Linked DNA regions of Homo sapiens: regions 2 and 3 are each linked to region 1. Evidence: promoter capture Hi-C in 16 types of primary human blood cells and fetal thymus (Javierre and others, 2016). All regions are on one chromosome and are shown on one strand. Each heading gives the region's core, a stretch centred on a gene start or on the middle of the fragment in contact. The rest is flanking DNA. Distances are from core to core; before and after follow the strand shown. Region 1 holds the start of FNDC5 (fibronectin type III domain containing 5). Region 2 has its middle 12 kb from the start of AZIN2. Region 3 overlaps AZIN2 (antizyme inhibitor 2).

Region 1 (2,816 bases), core at 181-2,680:
GCAGGTCTGGGGGCACTGAGGGGATGGGCAGGAAAATTCTGCTGCTCAACAAGAGCCCCTAAGCTCGCTTCCATCTCACCCCTTCCAAGGTGACCAAGGAGGAACACAGGGCCAGCGAAGGAGTCCTGGGTGGGCATAAGGAGAGGAGGGTTGTCTATCGCTCCTCTTGACCCACTGTGTGAATCTGCACCAAGCTCTTCCCATCGGTAGACCTCACTTCCTTAATGTAAAACCAGGGGGATGGAGAGGAAGACCCTGAAGACGTTTCTGTGGCAGAACTTTGCAAGACGTCTCCTTTCCAAAGAAAATTAGCCCTTCCAGGGCTTCTGGAAAACCTTTAAGACCCAAAGGAATGCCCCGCTAGTAGTGGAATTTCGGATAGTCGTGGGAGGGGGCTCAGGGGTTCTTGCTGAGACAAAAGGCCCTGAGCCCTGGTCCATGCCTCTCTCCTCCACCTTGTTTCTCTGGCTGAGATGAGGGAAGGGGGCTGGAGCCACTCCCCTTCTCAGAGATGCTCTTAGAGATTGCTGCAGACTGTTTTCTGGCTGGGGAGGAGCTGGCCCCGGCCAATTCTAGAGTCTCACGAATCTCCGGATGGGTGAAGTCACTCTGGGTGGGGAGACAGTTCAGTTAAGCACAGCTTTGGGAGTCAGATCAGCCTGTGTTCAAATCCTGGCTCTGCTGCGGGTCCCTGGACAAGTCAAGTAGCCTGTCCAAGCTGCAGGCTCCTCCTGTGCAAAGTGTGCAGAGTATGACTTTACAGGGTTGCCCTGAGAATTAAGCCACATAATGCAAAGAAAGCTCAGCATAGTATCTGGCCCCTGGTAGACGCTCATTACTGCCCTCACTATGGGGATGAAAATGAAGGAAAAGGACTGGCCTGGGGTCACAGAGCTGGACTCTCCAGTGAGACAGAGCAGCCTCTTCCCAACCCCACTGGAAACACGGAGCCCTAGTGTCCACTTAGCACTCTCTGCTCACCCCAGCCTTACTGTGATCTCTCCCCTCTGCTCCCGTCTGCCCCAGCCGCAAGGCCTCGGGTCTACCGTGGAATGAGGGGATCCCTAGGCCCAGGGAAGGGAGGCGCGCTTAGGGGTGGGGGCACAAACGGGCATCTCGGTGGCACTTGTCCTCTCTCTACCCTGGGAAAGGGCAGAAAGCGGCAGCCAAGTCAGGGCTGTGCACGGGAGAGAGAGTGACCGCGGCGGGGGCGCGGAGAACCCCGCTGGGCTCCCGCTCGGTGAGAGGGCGGGAGCCGTGGGTCCGCGAAGCCCCTTCCTCCCCGGCAGAGGACCTAATAGGCAGCGGGGGCGGGAGTGGGGGCGCCCTCCGGTCCTCACCCCGCCCCCGCACCTCTCCCCGCAGCGGGGGCGCCCCGCCCCCCGGGCGCCCGACGTGGACGCGGCCGCCGCCACCGCCGCCGCGCGGGAGTCGCTGTCCGCGGAGCCGACATGCAGGCGGCTCGGGGCGGCGCAGGGCGGCCGGAGCGGCCGGGCCGGCCGGGCCGGGGGCCGGAGCGCGAGCGCGAGCGGCCGCCGGGCGCCGGAGCCGCGTCCCCCTGCGCCGCCCCGGGCCTGCCGGCCGGAGGAGCCACCATACACCCCGGGTCGCCGAGCGCCTGGCCGCCCCGCGCCCGCGCCGCGCTCCGCCTGTGGCTGGGCTGCGTCTGCTTCGCGCTGGTGCAGGCGGGTAAGGGGGCCCGGGGCGGGGGGCCGGCGCCGGGGCAGGCTCCTCTCGAGCCCAGCTACCTGGGAGTCCCCTGGTCCTTTCTCTGCCCCCTAGGGACTCCTGTCTCGGCCCAAACACTGCTCCCCTAACCCAGCCCCCAGCGTCTTCCTACCTCCTTGACCCCCAGACCTGTCCTTCAGTTTCCAAATCTCCCCTGTCACCTCAGCCCTGGGTTTCCTAGGGTCTTGTGGTCCCCAGTCCCCTAATCCCATTCCCCTAACCCCAGGTCTTTGCCTCAGCTTCCCTAGCTCCCTTCTTTGACCCAGGGAGCAGCTGAGGACACCAGTTCCCCCACCTGGGCCTCTCTCTGTGTCCCCAGGACCTCTCAAAGCCCTGCAAGCCAACTCTGCAGGGGCAGATGGGGTCCCGCTGTGCAGGAGCACGTGTGAAGGGGATGGGGGCTGGCACCTGAGGGCGCAGGGCGTGGGGTGGGCCCCGGCACCCCTGATCTGGTACAGTGTCTGGCCTGCCCCATGGGGCCGGCCCGTCCTTGCCCAGCCTCTCCTGCCACTCTGTCTTTGTCCCTCCTGGCTGCCGCTGCCCGGCTCATCTCTCCCTCCGTGGCTCGGGGAGCGCTCTCTCGCAGCTGTCTTTCTCAGATGCCCCACTTCTCTGTCCTCTGGTTCTGTGTCTGCCACCACCTGTCTGTGTCCTGTCTCTCCACCTCCCCCTCCATGTCTGGCTCTGTCTCCCTCAGGTCCCAGGCCCAGCCCCCTGGGTCTCAAGTTCACTCTCTGTGGGGTGAGGGGTGCTGCTCAGGCGCAGCTCTGCCCCGTGCTGCACCTGCCCCTTGGAAGATACTGAGCCTTATGTGACTGCACTGCCCCTCTCCTGGACGGTTTTCCTCACTGACCCCCACTATCCCTATCACTCTCACCCCCACTTCCCTCCTGTCTCTTCTGGAGTGATTCCTCATTCATCCTCTTCCCCTACCTGTTCTCTCCTCTCCACTCGCCATGGAGGGGCCCTGCTCTGAGTGACCCCATCTTCCCCTGCCACCTCCCCACCTGCATCTTGGGGCTGGAAGAGCATGGATAAGAGGCTCACACAGACTCTTCCGCAGGCTTTATTCTGCCTGGGCCACCACA
Region 2 (3,258 bases), core at 679-3,178, 200 kb before region 1:
CCAGCCTCACCTCTACCGGACACTCTCCTGGCCACCATTTTCCCAGCCTTTCTCCAGCTGCTGCTGCTGCTGCTGTTTCTTTCTTCTTTCTGCTTCTTCTTTTCTTCCTCTTCTTCCTCTTCCTCTTCCTTCTTCCTCTTCCTCTTCCTTCTTCATCTTCCTCCTCCTTCTTTCTTCTTTCTTCTTCCTCTTCTTTCTTTTCTTCCTTCTTCCTCTTCTTCTTCCTCTTGTTCTTCCTCTTCTTCTTCTTCTTCCTATTCTTCCTCCTCTTCCTCTTCTTCCTCTTCTTCTTCTTTCTCTTCTTCCTCCTCTTCTTCTTCTTGCTGCTGCTACCTCTCTTCTTCTTCTTTCTCCTTCTTCTTCTTTGAGATAGGCCTCTCTCTCACACCTACATGTAAGCTGGAGGGCAGTGGCACAATCACAACTCATTGCAGCCTCAGACTCCTGGGCTCAAGGGTCCTTCCACCTCAGCCTCCAAGTAGCTGGGACTACAGGCATGTGCCACCATGCCTGGCTAATTTTTTTTTAGTGATGAGGGTCTAACTATGTTGCCCAGGATGGTCTCGAACTCCTGGGCTCCAGTGATCCTCCCCTCTCAGCCTCCCAAGTAGCTGGGACTACAGGTATGAGCCACCACACCCAGCATTTCCAATTTATTGAACCTGCCATGTTTCTTCCTTTCTTGGGACCTCTGCACTTGCTGTTCCTCTGGGACATTTTTTCCACCTCTTCACCTGACCAACTGCTGCTCATCCTTTAGGTCTTGGCTGAAATGTCCTTTCCTCAGAGAGGCTGTCCCTGACGCTTTGGATCACTAAACGCATTTCTTCATTTTGAGTAGGGGAAAACCCAACTCAAACTGTCTCAAGCAAAAAGGGCATTCATTGCCTTATGTGACAAAGTCACTGAGGGATAAAAGTTGACACAAAGACTAAATCCAAGAGCTCAAAAATGTCACTGGGATCTGTTCTGCTTCGAGTCTCAGTGCTGCCTTCCTTGGAGTGGGCTTCTACCTCAGGCAGGCTCTCAGCAACCCCCCCCCACCACACACGCTTATCCTCCAATCCACCCTGGACCCCAGCCACTGCCTCCTAGGCCAGGTTCCTTGATGTGCACATCTCTGATTGGCCAGACCTGGGGCTTGAGCCCCTTGCCCAAGATGAGATCAGCCCCATTCTTACAATATAGAATGAGAGTGGGGAAGGTATGGTTCTCCAGTAGAAAAATGGGGTGTTGTAACGTGAAAAGGGGGGATGAATTCTAGCCAGGAAAAAAATGCCGATGGATTCTCTTATTCTGTTTATCAGCACCCTGAGTGTTGCCCTACGTACTGGGGCACTCTTTTTGTCTTTTATTATTGTTTGTTTATTTTGTTGCTGTTGTTGTTTGGGGGTTGTTTTTTCTTTTTGTTTTTGTTTGAGACAGGGTCTTGCTCTGTCCCCCAGGCCGAAGTGCAGTGACACAATCACGGCTCACTGCACCCTCTATCTCCCAGGCTCTAATGATCCTCCCACCTTAGCCTCCTGAGTAGCTGGGACTACAGGCATGCACCACCATGCCTAGCTAGTTTTCAAATTTTTTTGTAGAGAAGAGGGTCTCCCTATGTTACCCAGGCTAGTCTTGGACTCCCGGGCTTAAGTAATCCCCCCACCACTGCACCCAGCCCCAGGGCACTCTTTTGCCTTAGGATCTTTGCACAGGCTACCCCTTCTGCCTGAAATGCTTTTTTAAAAATATAATAATATAAATCCTTTTTGCTTTTTTTTGTTGTTGTTGAGACGGAGTCTTGCTCTGTCGCCCAGGCTGGAATACAGTGGCACAATCTCGCCTCACTGTCTCTCGGTTTCAAGCGATTCTCATGCCTCAGCCTCCTGAGTAGTTAGGATTATAGGTTCATATCACCATGCCCAGCTAGTTTTTTGTATTTTTAGTAAAGATGAGGTTTCACCATGTTGTCCAGGCTGGTCTTGAACTCCTGACCTCAAGTGATCTGCCTGCCTCAGTCTCTCAAACTGCTGGGATTACAGGCATGAGCCACTGCACCCGACCTATAAATCCTTTTTTTAAAAAAAGTTTTATCTTGAAATTCATACAGAAACTTTCCAAAAATAGTATATATCTTTCACCCAGATTCCCCAAATGTTAACATGTTGACAATTTTGCTTTCCATTCAAATATATATATTTGTGTGTTTGTGAATACATGGATGGATAGATATGGATAGACAGAGGGATAAATTATTTATTTTTTCTAAACTGTTGGAGAGTAAGTTGCAGACATAAAGCCACTTTACACCTAAATATGTCCATGTGTATTTTGTCTAGAATGTGTTTCTGAAGGAGTGGCCTGCCCTTCCACACCTGTAGGTGTTTCTCGTCAGGTGGGACGAGAGACTGAGAAAAGAAAGAGACACAGAGACAAAGTATAGAGAAAGAAAAGTGGGCCTAGGGGACTGGCGCTCAGCATATGGAGGACCTGCACCAGGAGGACCTGCACCAGCACCGGTCTCTGAGTTCCCTTAGTATTTATTGATCATTATCTCTGACATCTCGGAGAGGGGGATGTGGCAGGACAATAGGGTAATAGTGGGGAGAGGGTCAGCAGGAAAACATGTGAACAAATGTCTCTGTGTCATAAACAAGGTTAGAAAAGGTGCCTTTATCTTCCCATTTTAGGGGAAAGAATGAGCTGAACCTCCTATGCAAAGTGGAATGATGATTCTCATTCTCCTGACAAGAAATAAAATAAGTAGCCTCCAGGCATTCCTTTCCACCAGAGGAGCAATTGTTTTTTAAATAGCCCTTTGGTGCCCAGTCTATTACTAAACCGTATGAGTCATTTTTTAATATTACTGCATGTGAGTTAACACAATCTTCCCAAATTAAAGTTTTAGATGGGCCCTCAAAATTTTTAGGGCATGGTTTTCCTGCAGGTTTATATTGAAAGTATGGGGTACCTCCCATTATTCCCCCTTTCATTTGTTTTAAAGGAGAAAGTGAGTGGCCAGAGACTAAATGTCCTGGTTCTTCTGTAGCTGATCTCTCCGGAAGATAAGCAGCCTAGACTTGAGTTTTTAGATGGATACAACCAGGTGCGTGTCTGAGGCACAGAGGTGGGTATTTATAACCTATGGTAACATTAAATGCAGTGCCTTCTTCTCCTGGTTGAGCAAGGCAATGGTCATCTGTAGCTCTAGGCATCTACACACTATTGTTAGTGTAGATTTTTGTAGGAGCATCAATCTAGGTGAGAGGTCAA
Region 3 (2,892 bases), core at 374-2,873, 250 kb before region 1:
CAAAATGCTTAATCTCTCCATGTCTCAGTTTGCTCATTTGTAAAATGGGGATAACAACAGTACCTACCTCGTAAGGTTACTGCAAGGATAAATGAGTTAGTGTATGGAGAGCATGTAGAACAGTGGCGGCACACGGCGAGGGTGCACAGAAAGTCAGCACAATTGTAACTTATTGTTGTGATTGCTGTTGTTACCACCTCTGCACTTTGGTCTTCACTGGCCTCTTTCCAGACGTCGATATGTCCACACCTCTACAGCCCTTCCCCGACCCTCAAATCTAGCCTGTCTTCTGAGCCCAGCCCTGGGGCTCCCTCGTCTATGAAGCCCTCCCAGATGTCCTCACTCCATGCCAGGCCCCACAACAGGAGCCAGCAGTATACCAGGCTAGACTCACCCTCCCTCAGGCCCTCAGTCTAATGAGAAAGATGGACTTCCAACAACAATCACAGGGGGACCTGGCAGAGGTCACAGAGGACCCCACAGAGTAGACACAATTACTCCCATTTCAGAAAAATGGAGGCTCTGACAGCTTAAATGACTTGCCCAAAGACACAACTACCAATGACATAAAATTTAAGATTTTTTCTTAAATGATTTCCAAATCCAGAAATTTGTAACAGACTCTGGACAACCAAGTTATCAGTGCCATTTGCCACAGTGTAGGCAGGGATCTTGCCAGGCAGATCCTAGAGTCACCACTGAAATGTGGATGATGATGACTGTGCCCTCTGAGAGGCCTCTTCTCCCATCACTGCACTTGCTGTGCTCCAGTTACTCCAGTTGCTCTGGGCTCCCCAGGTAAACCCTACTTCCCTTCCCATACCTCCTACTTTCCCCCATGCTATTCCCTGAGGCCCCAAATTTGCAAATTCCTATTTCTCCTTTAGATCTCAGCTAAAATGGCTTCAGGGAAGCCTTTCCTAAAGCTCCATGCTCCCTCAAGCTTTGCTTTCGTAGTATTTACCATAATTCATAAATATTTGTGAAATATCTGCTCAGGCCTGTCTTCCCTGAAGACTATAAATTCCATGAGCCCAGGGGATGTGTAGGTCTTGTCATCCCCATCTCCTCAATGCCTAGCAGGCTGGCATCCATTAGGTGCTTATTCAAATAATATTTTTAAATAAATGAATTAAAGAATGGGGAATATATGAGTGATGAGAAAGAGAAAGAATGACAAAGGGGAGAAAAAGGATATGAATGGAAGCCATCCAAAGGGCATAGATGGAAGCAACAGAGAAGACCAGCAGAGAAAAAAGGAAAGGCGTTTCAATACCTTAGCCAGAGCAGGAATGAGTAAAATTGAGAAAGAAAAGTCGCAGTTTCCATAAGCAGAAATAGTGCTCATATATTTGATAAAAAGTTAATAAGCTATTAGTCCCATTAATAAAGAAAAATATGTACATTATGTAAGTTAAGAATGATAGCTATCCAATCTTCAGGAATTCATTCATTCAACAAGTACTTATTGAGCACCTACTAATTGCCAGGCTGTGATCTAGGAGCTGGAGATGCAGCAGTAAACACACACACAAAATAAAATTCCTGTGGTCATGAAGCTCCCATTCTAAGAAGGGGAGACAAAGGAATACTGTATATCCTTGTTCATATAACTGAACATTCTTGTTTATAAACTTTTTGTTGATGAATAAAATTAACCTCAAGTGGTCTGAATTATTTCCCTTAGCCCCACTCATTGAAAAACATTAAGCTAATGTTTAAAGATGAGTGGAGGGGATGCTCTATAAATGAATCTACAAGGATCTTTGGGAAAATAAATTTTAAAGATTCTTCCATGGTAAAGAGAAAAGGCACCCTTGGATTATAAGAAGTTAGCATTCCCTCACTTGTTATTAGTGGTGTAAATTTTAAAAAATTAGGTGAAAAAAGATTTTAAATCTTCACATGACATAATGCAAAGCTACGCTTTTACTATTTATGTATCTATTTAACTTTTTTTTGAGACAGAGTCTCACTCTGTCATCGAGGCTGGAGTGTAGTGGTGTGATCTCAGCCCACTGCAACCTCTGCCTCCTGGGTTCAGCGATTCTCCTGTCTCAGCCTCCCGAGTAGCTGAGATTACAGGTGCCGGCCACCACACCTGGCTAATTTTTGTAGTTTTAGTAGATACAGGATTTTGCCATGTTGGCCAGGCTGGTCTCAAACTCCTGACCTCAGGTGATCCGCCACCTCGGCCTTCCAAAGTACTGAGATTGCAGGTGTGAGCCACTGCACCCAGCCTATTTTTTTTTTTTTAAGGAATCTGTGAAATAAATATTCTAAAAGCTGTGGCAACAAGCTTGTAAATCTCAGCTATTTTTACAAGTCTGAGTGGAAATGGACAAGCATCTGCAAAAATCCAAGATGCCCAGTCTGCCAGCCACTAGGCCCCTCTGTGAGAGAGGGCAGGGGGTTCCTCATTTACAAAGCATACCACCACCACTTCATACCTTATCTGGGAGGCAGGTGGCATGATTGCATTCCCATTTTACAGATGAGAAAACTCAGAGAGGGAAGGTGACCTGCCCAAGGCTCTAGGGGGAGTTAGTAGAACTCTGGGCAGTCCCAGACAAGGAGCCTCCTGGCTGCACCTAGCTGCCTTCTTCAAAGGCACATATGTCTGACAGAGCCACAGAAAAAACAAGGTCAAACATTGAAAAAGGTGCACGGCCTTGATGGAATCCCTAAATAATTCTTCAACTTTTAAAGAATAAATCAATAGGCTGGGCGCGGTGGCTCACGCCTGTAATCCCAGCACTTTAGGAGGCGGACACGGGCGCATCACTTGAGGTCAGGAGTTTGAGGCCAGCCTGGCCAACATGGCAAAACCCTGTCGCTACTAAAAATACAAAAATTAGCTGGGCGTGTAATCCCAGCTACTCAGGAGGCTGA

What was found. The method cuts DNA at HindIII sites, captures the fragments that hold promoters and counts their contacts. A CHiCAGO score of 5 or more calls a contact.
Region 2: a fragment that was not itself captured here is called in contact with the fragment with the promoter of FNDC5 in region 1 in 4 of 17 cell types (endothelial precursors, erythroblasts, neutrophils and 1 more); the score reaches 9.3 in endothelial precursors.
Region 3: a fragment that was not itself captured here is called in contact with the fragment with the promoter of FNDC5 in region 1 in 1 of 17 cell types (endothelial precursors); the score reaches 5.2 in endothelial precursors.

What each region holds. Positions count from the first base shown.
Region 1 is chr1:32,869,526-32,872,341 of GRCh38, reverse strand. FNDC5 (fibronectin type III domain containing 5) reads left to right here and starts at 1,430. Exons shown (of 6, transcript NM_001441683.1): 1 at 1,430-1,689. The coding sequence starts at 1,452. The HindIII fragment of the contact is 9,260 bases long and covers 1-2,816 here.
Region 2 is chr1:33,067,769-33,071,026 of GRCh38, reverse strand. No RefSeq gene overlaps it. Among named protein-coding and RNA genes, the nearest start is that of AZIN2, 12 kb to the left of the region's middle. The HindIII fragment of the contact is 9,006 bases long and covers 1-3,258 here.
Region 3 is chr1:33,114,772-33,117,663 of GRCh38, reverse strand. All of the region lies in intron 10 of AZIN2 (antizyme inhibitor 2), which reads right to left. Among named protein-coding and RNA genes, the nearest start is that of AZIN2, 35 kb to the right of the region's middle. The HindIII fragment of the contact is 1,356 bases long and covers 946-2,301 here.